3 separate regions of the Homo sapiens genome follow, and regions 1 and 3 are each linked to region 2. The links are contacts of gene promoters, found by promoter capture Hi-C in human tissues and cell types (Jung and others, 2019). All regions are on one chromosome and are shown on one strand. Each heading gives the region's core, a stretch centred on a gene start or on the middle of the fragment in contact. The rest is flanking DNA. Distances are from core to core; before and after follow the strand shown. Region 1 has its middle 11 kb from the start of CARMIL3. Region 2 holds the start of DHRS2 (dehydrogenase/reductase 2). Region 3 has its middle 21 kb from the start of DHRS4L2.

Region 1 (2,739 bases), core at 23-2,522, 400 kb after region 2:
CAGCCTCCCAAAGTGCTGGGATTACAGGCGTGAGCCACTGCGCCCGGCCATAGCTTCTTAAAAGGATACGTTAAGGACCTTAAAAGGATATAGCCTCTTAAAAGGATATGTTTACACACTCTTGTAGCAAATAAGAAGCCATGTGAGGTTTTGAGCAAGAGAAAGATGGTTATTAGGAAAGCTAATCTGGCTCTGGTAGGAAGGATATACAGAGGAGACACCAAATCCAGGGCATCAGTGAGGAAGCTGTTGCTGTCGTCCAGGTTTAGAGCAGTGGCGGTGGGACTGGAATAGATGTGCCCAAGAGACATTCAGTGGAAACGAACCAAGATTTTCCAACCCCATGTCAAAAAGTGGGAAATAGAGAAGTCAAAAATGACTCTCAGGTAGTTTGTATGACCATTGTCAGAGAGGAGAATGATAGAATACTTGTCAGCAATTTGAAATGTCTTCTGCCAGTTGTCACATGTTACCCTGCAATGAGAAAAGCCACTGCCCTGAGAATGGATACTACCCAGTGGCCTCCTCATCTGCACACCACGAAGCTTCTCACTGGTGTTGTAAGTGGAAACCAGAGTAGCTGCCTATCTGCTTGATTATATTTTTTCTTAAAAATGTATAACTATCAGAACACAGAACAAACAGCTCCTAACCACTTTAGTGTAGTGATCACACAATTTAGAACACTTAGAAGACATCTTTTTCTTTTCCCCCCAGAGACAGGGCCTCACTCTGTTGCCCAGGCTGGAGTGCAGTGGCATGATCATAGCTCACTGTAACCTCCAACTCTTGAGCTCAAGCAGTCCTCCCCCGTCAGCCTCCCAAGTGGCTAAGATTATAGGCATGCACCACCACGCCAGTTCATCTTTTAAATTTGTTGTAGAGTTGGGGCTTTATTGCCCAGGCTGGTTTTGAACTCCTGGCCTCAAGCGGTCCTCCCTACTGGCCGTACCAAAGTGCTAGGATTATAGGTGTGAGCCACCACACCCAGCCTCATTCATCTTTTATGGTTTGCTGTCTCTGTTCATTCAAAACCCAGCCTCCTCCCATCTCTGTGCTGACAGACCTGGAAGTAGAGGGGCATGGGGTATGCAGCAGAGTAGAAAATGTCTCCAGGTGATTCTGGAGCAATCCACTGTCTTCTCCCAGCCCAAACACACGTGCACTGAGCACAGCACACATCACTTATTAACTTATTCTGCACCTCCCTAGTAACAAGTACATTGGTGAGACTTACACAGAGCCAAGGCAGGTGACTTGGCTTTGTGCCAGGATACCAAAATTTAAAGGGTGCAAGAAAGTATTCATACTGGTTTTAAAAGAGTACTTGACTTTAAATTTTGTTAGATTTACACGTTGACAGCCCAGGCATTTCTTCAACTGTGTTGAAGGTTAGCACCTAGTTAACAAGAATAATTAGTTAAAATGGGAAGCTAGCAGATGGTGTACATTGTTAATAACACCCCTCCGTGGGCCAAATCCGGAGCACAAAATTGACCAAGGGCCCATGTACTGCTACTTGCCCAAGGCATCAAAATTGCCAGTTCCAGGCAAATGCAAAGTCTGGTTTCAGGGTGGCTTTGTACTGAAAACCCTTGTTGGCAGATTCTGCTTGGCCATTCATTACTCTAGCACATGCCTCACTACCTACTTATAACTTATTAAGGAGGTGAGATGTTGCCTTTCTTGGCTTTCTCAGTTTAAATTTCCCTTTCTGCCTTGAATCTTTCATGCCTCCAGGTCAAAAGAGAGAGACAGAGACAGGGAAAATGACATCATAACCAAATATGGAATTGCTTTAAATTCAGGCTGGTATCTTCTCCCATCATGGCTCTCCTGGGCAGCCGGTTTCCTAATGACCCCAGCTCACTTTCAGAGGGCTCTTACGAATTAGCTCTGTGCTACAAAGTGGGAGACTGACCTCAGTTCTTCCACCACTAACTAGCTTTATGCCCTGAACAAATCACTTTCCCCAACACGGAATAAGCAGGCCTCCTGTTCTTAGCTAGCCCCAGTGTGTTACTACTGAACTATATGATCTTGAGAAAATTCCCTGAACCTGTTTCATCATCTCCACCTTAAGGACATTGGAATAGATGATCTCAAAGGCCCCTCCAGGGTAACTTTCTACAGCTCTATTTAAGCCAGTTTTTCCATTCAGGTAAGTGTGGCCAGATTGACTTTGAAATAATGGTAACTTATTCAAGAAGAACTGGACAGTAAGCACTTGGAGAAATGTGGGTGGAACTCAGTGTGAAAGGAAGAGGAGGGGTCTGGAAATAGATTTTGGGGTGAGATTTGAAATCACGAGAATGAAGGAGCTCCCAAATGGGAAAATGTAAAGAAAAGAGCATAGGGTCAGAGACAGCCTTAGAAGAATAGGAGGTGGGAAGAAAACACTGCAAAAGAAATAAGGCCAACTTCCTGGTGGCTCACACCTGTAACACTTTGAGAGGCCGAGGCAGGCGGATGGCTTTAGCTCAGGAGTTCCAGACCAGCCTGGGCAACATGGCAAGACCCTGTCTCTACAAAAAGTACAAAAATTGCCCAGGTGTGATGGCACGCACCTGTATTCTCAGCTACTTGGGGGGCTGAGGCAGGAGGATGGCTTGAACCCAGTAGGTCAAGGCTGCAGTGAGCTGGGATCATGCCACTGAACTCCAGCCTGGGTGACAGAGGAAGACTCCATCTAAAAAAAGAAAGAAGCCAACCTTAAATGGTTAGCAGCAGATCTTAGGG
Region 2 (3,129 bases), core at 21-2,520:
GCTCTCTCTCCCAGGCTGGAGTACGGTGGTGCAATCTCAGCCTACCACAGCCTTGACCTCCTGGGCTCAAGCAATCGTCCCATCTTAGTCTCCCGAGTAGCTGTGACTACAGGCATGCACCACCACACCCAGCTAATTTTTATAGAGACATGGTTTCACCTTGTTGCCCAGGCTGGTCTCAAACTCCTGAGCTCAAGGGATCTGCCCACCTTGGCCTTCCAAAGTACTGGGATTACAGGTGTGAGCTACCGTGCCTGGCCTCAGTTAGTTCTTTATAGCAGTGTGAAAACAAACTAATACAGACTTGTTTCCAGTTTGGAACATTCTAAGCAGGCTTCTCTGAACCTGTGTGTACAGTCTCTTGGTGCACACATGACCTCCTGTCTGCAGGATGCAAGTTCCCTCTACAGAGTCAGAGATCTTTATTTTCAACTTCTCCGTATAATGCCAAATCATTTCCCAAAGTGATTGTACTTACCCTCTACCCAGCAGTGAATGAGAGTTTCTGTTGATTTTGCTTTTTCAACTAGAAGTGAGAGGTGACAATATGCTAGCAGCCCTTGCTCACTCTTGGTGCCTCCTCGTCCTCCACATCCACTCTGGCTGCACTTGAGGAGCCCTTCAGCCCACCACTGCACTGTGGGGGCCCCTCTCTGGGGCTGGCCAAGGCCGAAGCCAGCTCCCTCTGCTCGCCAGGAGGTGTGGAGGGAGAGGCGCCGGCAGGAGCCCACACTGTACAGGGCACTCACCGGCCAGCAGGGGCTCCGTGGGCCGGCCGGTGCCAGCTGGGCCTGACTGGGGGATGAGCTCCCTCTGGGCTGCTGGAGTGCCTGGGCTAGGTGCCGCAAAGTCCTGCAGTGTGTGCCATTGAGAGGTGAAGCCGGCTGGGCTTCTGGGTCCGGTGGGGACCTGGAGAACTTTTCTGTCTAGCTAAAGGTTTGTAAATGCACCCATCAGCACTCTGTGTCTAGCTAAAGGTTTGTAAATGCACCAATCAGCAATCTGTGTCTAGCCAATCTGGTGGGGACTTGGAGAACTTTTGTGTCTAGCTAAAGGATTGTAAATGCACCAATCAGCACTCTGTGTCTAGCTAAAGGTTTGTAAATGCACCAATCAGCACTCTGTCAAAACGGACCAATCAGCTCTCTGTAAAACAGACCAATCAGCTCTCTGTAAAATGGACCAATCAGCTCTCCATAAAATGGACCAATCAGCAGGATGTGGGTGTGGCCAGTTAAGGGAATAAAAGCAGGCTGCCTGAGCCGGCAGCAGCAACCTGCTCTGGTTCCCTTCCACGCTGTGGAAGCTTTGTTCTTTTGGTCTTCATGATAAATCTTGCTGCTGCTCACTCGTTGGGTCCGTGCCACCTTTAAGAGCTGTAACACTCACCGCGAAGGTCTGCAACTTCACTCCTGGGGCCAGCAAGACCACGAATGCACCGAGAGGAATGAACAACTCTGGACACACCATCTTTAAGAACCGTAATACTCACCGCAAGGGTCTGCAACTTCATTCTTGAAGTCAGTGAGGCCAAGAACCCATCAATTCCGTACACATTTTGGTGACTTTGAAGAGACTGTCACCTATCACCAAGTGGTGAGACTATTGCCAAGCAGTGAGACTATTGCCAAGTGGTGAGACCATCACCAAGCGGTGAGACTATCACCTATCGCCAAGTGGTGAGTACCATCAGATCCCTTTCATTTGCTATTCTGTCCTATTTTTCCTTAGAATTCGGTGGCTAAATTCTGGGCACCTGTCGGCCAGTTAAAAGTGACTAGCGCAGCCGCTGGACTAAAAACGTGGGTGTCAGGCTTTCTGGGAAAGGGATCTCTAACAACCCCTGGCTCTGTGGAGTTGGGAATGTTGTTTTGCCTGGAACCAGCTTCCGCTTTTCCTGTACTTCTGGGCTGAGCTGAGGGTCAACAGAGAGGAAAGCCATTCAGCTCCGGAGTCCCCACAACAAGTTGGTTGACCCTGCGGCCATGAGCGGAACTCTCAAAGGCATGTTGCCCAAGTGAGACTCACCTATCTATCCTATCTATCCTGACCCTTGCTCGCTGGGTCCTAATGCCTGCCAGACAAACTTTCTCTCTCCTCTCTTCTCCTAGGCTAGTCCCACTTCTAAAAAACCACTCCCTGTCTCTGGTGCTTTTCTAATTTCTCTTATAAGAATGATTTCTAGTAAAAATTTCAGGACTCTGTTACCTTCTTTAGGCACCTGGGCTCACCAATCAGAAAGACATAATTTTTGCCCAAAGCCCAGTTGTAGGGGGAACTATCTGGAATTTTAGAATCCCTCCTCAGATAAGCAGGTCTAACAAAAGCTATTCCTGAAGCTAGGATAGGGGGAGCCTCAGAAATTGTATCCTTCCTATTCATATAAGTGAGGACAAAAGGTGTCACTTTTCCAACCCTGGAGACCCCTTCCCTCCCTCAGGTTACTCTTCTTCATTTTTGGGGCATAACATCTTTATAGGACACGGGTAAGTTCCCAATACTAACAGGAGAATGCTTAGGACTCTAACAGGTTTTCGAGAATGCGTCGGTAAGGGCCACTAAATCCGATTTTTCTCGGTCCTCCTCATGGTCTAGGAGGACAAGCAAGGGTGCAGCACTCTATGTCTAGCTAATCAGGTGGGGACTTGGAGAACTTTTGTGTCTAGCGAAAGGATTGTAAATGCACCAATCAGCACTCTGTGTCTAGCTAAAGGTTTGTAAACACAGCAATCAGCACTCTGTCAAAATGGACCAATCAGCTCTCTATAAAACAGACCAATCAGCTCTCTGTAAAATGGACCAATCAGCAGGATGTGGACAGGGCCAGATAAGGGAATAAAAGCAGGCCACCCGAGCCAGCAGCAGCAACCTGCTTGAGTCCCCTTCCACACTGTGGAAGTTTTGTTCTTTCGCTCTTTGCAATAAATCTTGATTCACTGCTGCTCACTCTTTGGGTCCGCGCTGCCTTTAAGAGCTGTAACACTCACCACGAAGGTCTGCAACTTCACTCCTGAGGCCAGTGAGACCACAAACCCTCCAGAAGGAATGAACAACTCCAGACGCACTGCCTTTAAGAGCTGTAACACTCACTGCGAAGGTCTGCAGCTTCACTCCTGAAGCCAGCAAGAC
Region 3 (2,741 bases), core at 213-2,712, 370 kb after region 2:
AACATCAGAACAGGAAAGGACATCCACACTAAAACCCCATCCATAGGTCACCAACATCAAAGACCAAAGGTAGATAAAACCACAAAGATGGAGAGAAACCAGAGCAAAAAGGCTGAAACTTCCAGAAATCAGAACGTCTCTTCTCTTCCAAAGGAATACAAGTCCTCACCAGCAAGGGAACAAAACTGGATGGAGAATAAGTTTGATGACTTGACAGACGTAAGCTTCAGAAGGTCAGTAATAACAAACTACACCCAGCTAAAGGAGCATGTTCTAACCCATTGCAAGGAAGCTAAAAACCTTGACAAAATGTTAAACGAATGGCTAACTAGAATGAAGAATCTAGAGAAGAGCTTAAATGACCTGATGGAGCTGATAACCACAGTACAAGAACTTCATGAAGGATACACAAGCTTCAATAGCTGATTCAATCAAGTGGAAGAAAGGATATCAGTGATTGAATATAAAATTAATGAAATAAAGTGAGAACACAAGATTAGAGACAAGAAAAGAAAAAAGAAACATTCAAATTCAGGAAATACAGAGAACATCACAAAGACACTCCTTGAGAAGAGCAACCCCAAGACACATAATTGTCAGATTCAGCAAGGTTAAGGGCAGCCAGAGAGAAAGGTTGGGTTACCAACAAAGGGAAGCCCATCAGACTAACAGCAGATCTCTCAGCAGAAACCATACAAACCAGAAGAGAGTCGGGACCAATATTCAACATTCTGAAAGAAAAGATTTTTGGAACTAGAATTTCATATCCAGCCAAACTAAGCTTCGTAAGTGAAGGAGAAATAAAATCCTTTACAGACAAGCAGATGCTGAGAGAGTTTGTCACCACCAGGCCTGCCTTACAATAAGAGCTCCTGAAGGAAGCACTAAACATGGAAAGGAACAACCAGTACCAGCCACTGCAAAAACATACGAAATTGTAAAGACCATTGATGCTATGAAGAAACTGCATCAATTAATGGGCAAAATAACCAGCTAACGTCATGACAGGATCAAATTCACATATAACAATACTAACCTTCAATGTAAATGGGATAAATGCCCCAATTAAAAGACACTGACTGGCAAATTGGATAAAGAATCAAGACCCATATGGTGTGCTGTATTCAGGAGACCCAATCTCACGTGCAAAGACACACATAGGCTCAAAATGAAGGTGTGTCTGGAATTGGTGGGTTCTTGGTCTCACTGACTTCAAGAATGAAGCCACGGACCCTCGCAGTGAGTGTTACAGTCCTTAAAGGCAGCGTGTCCGGAGTTTGTTCCTTCTGATGTTCAGACACGTTCAGAGTTTTTTCCTTCTGGTGGGTTCGTGGTCTCGCTGGCTTCAGGAGTGAAGCTGCGGACCTTCACAGTGAGTGTTACAGCTCTTAAGGCGGCATGTCTGGAGTTGTTCGTTCCTCCCATCCGGAGTTGTTCATTCCTCCCACTGGGTTCGTGGCCTCACTGGCCTCAGGAGTGAAGCTGCAGACCTTCACGATGAGTGTTACAGCTCATAAAGGCCGTGTGGACCCAAAGAGTGAGGGGCAGCAAGATTTATTGCAAAGAGCGAAAGAACAAAGCTTCCACAGTGTGGAAGGGGACCCAAGCAGGTTGCTACTGTTTGAAGGGGTGGCTTGCCCCTCCACACCTGTGGGTATTTCTAGTCAGGTGGGACGAGAGACTGAGAAAGAGAAATAAGACACAGAGACAAAGTATAGAGAAACAACAGTGAGCCCAGGGGACCGGCGCTCAGCATACCAAGGACTTGCACCGGCACCGGTCTCTGAGTTCCCTCAGTTTTTATTGATTATTATCGTCATTATTTCAGTAAAAAGGAATGTAGTAGGAGGGCAGGGTGATAATAAGGAGAAGGTCAGCAACAAACGTGAGCAATAGAATCTAATAATTCAGTTCAAGGGAAGGTACTATGACTGGACATGCACGTAAGCCAGATTTATGTTTCTCTCCACCCAAACATCTCGGTGGAGTAAAGAATAACGAGGCAGCATTGCTGCAAACATGTCTCGCCTCCCACCATAGGGCGGTTTTTCTCTCATCTCAGAACTGAACAAATGTACAATCGGGATTTATACCGAGACTTTTAGTTCCCAGGAGCAGGCAGGAGACAGTGGCCTTCCTCTATCTCAACTGCAAGAGGCCTTCCTTTTTTACTAACCCACCGCAGCACAGACCCTTTATGGGTGTCGGGCTGGGGGACAGTCAGGTCTTTCTCATCCCAGGAGGCCATATTTCAGACTATCACATGGGGAGAAACCTTGGACAATACCCTGCTTTCAAGGGCAGAGGTCCCTGCGGCTTTCTGCAGTGCACTGTGCCCCTGGTTTATTGAGACTAGAGAATGGCGATGACTTTTACCAAGTATACTGCTTGTAAACATTTTGTTAACAAGGCACGTCCTACACAGTCCTAGATCCCTTAAACCTTGATTTCATACAACACATGTTCTTGTGAGCTCCAGGTTGGGTCAAAGTGGTTGGGTCAAAGTGGCTGGGGCAAAGCTAAAAATTAACAACATCTCAGAAAAGCAATTATTTAAAGTACAGGTCTTTTTCAAAATGTAGTCTCTTATGTCTTCCCTTTCTACATAGACACGGTAACAGTCTGATCTCTCTTTCTTTTCCCTACATATCCCCCTTTTCTTTTTGACAAAACTGTCATTGTCACCATGGCCTGTTTTTGCTGGTCACTGTCTTTCTGGAACTGCTGGATACACCTGTAGA

Evidence for each region. Contacts are between HindIII fragments. The study calls those that stand out against the background at their distance.
Region 1: a contact is called between a fragment that was not itself captured here and the fragment with the promoter of DHRS2 in region 2, in 3 of the 25 tissues and cell types used here (bladder, dorsolateral prefrontal cortex and liver).
Region 3: a fragment that was not itself captured here is called in contact with the fragment with the promoter of DHRS2 in region 2 in 4 of the 25 tissues and cell types used here (bladder, dorsolateral prefrontal cortex, lymphoblastoid cells and 1 more).

What each region holds. Positions count from the first base shown.
Region 1 is chr14:24,039,640-24,042,378 of GRCh38, forward strand. It overlaps the pseudogene DHRS4L1. Among named protein-coding and RNA genes, the nearest start is that of CARMIL3, 11 kb to the right of the region's middle. The HindIII fragment of the contact is 6,357 bases long and covers 1-2,739 here.
Region 2 is chr14:23,635,094-23,638,222 of GRCh38, forward strand. It overlaps DHRS2 (dehydrogenase/reductase 2), which reads left to right and starts at 1,271. Exons shown (of 9, transcript NM_005794.4): 1 at 1,271-1,679. The HindIII fragment of the contact is 10,677 bases long and covers 1-2,958 here.
Region 3 is chr14:24,008,074-24,010,814 of GRCh38, forward strand. It overlaps the pseudogene DHRS4L1. Among named protein-coding and RNA genes, the nearest start is that of DHRS4L2, 21 kb to the left of the region's middle. The HindIII fragment of the contact is 5,422 bases long and covers 1-2,741 here.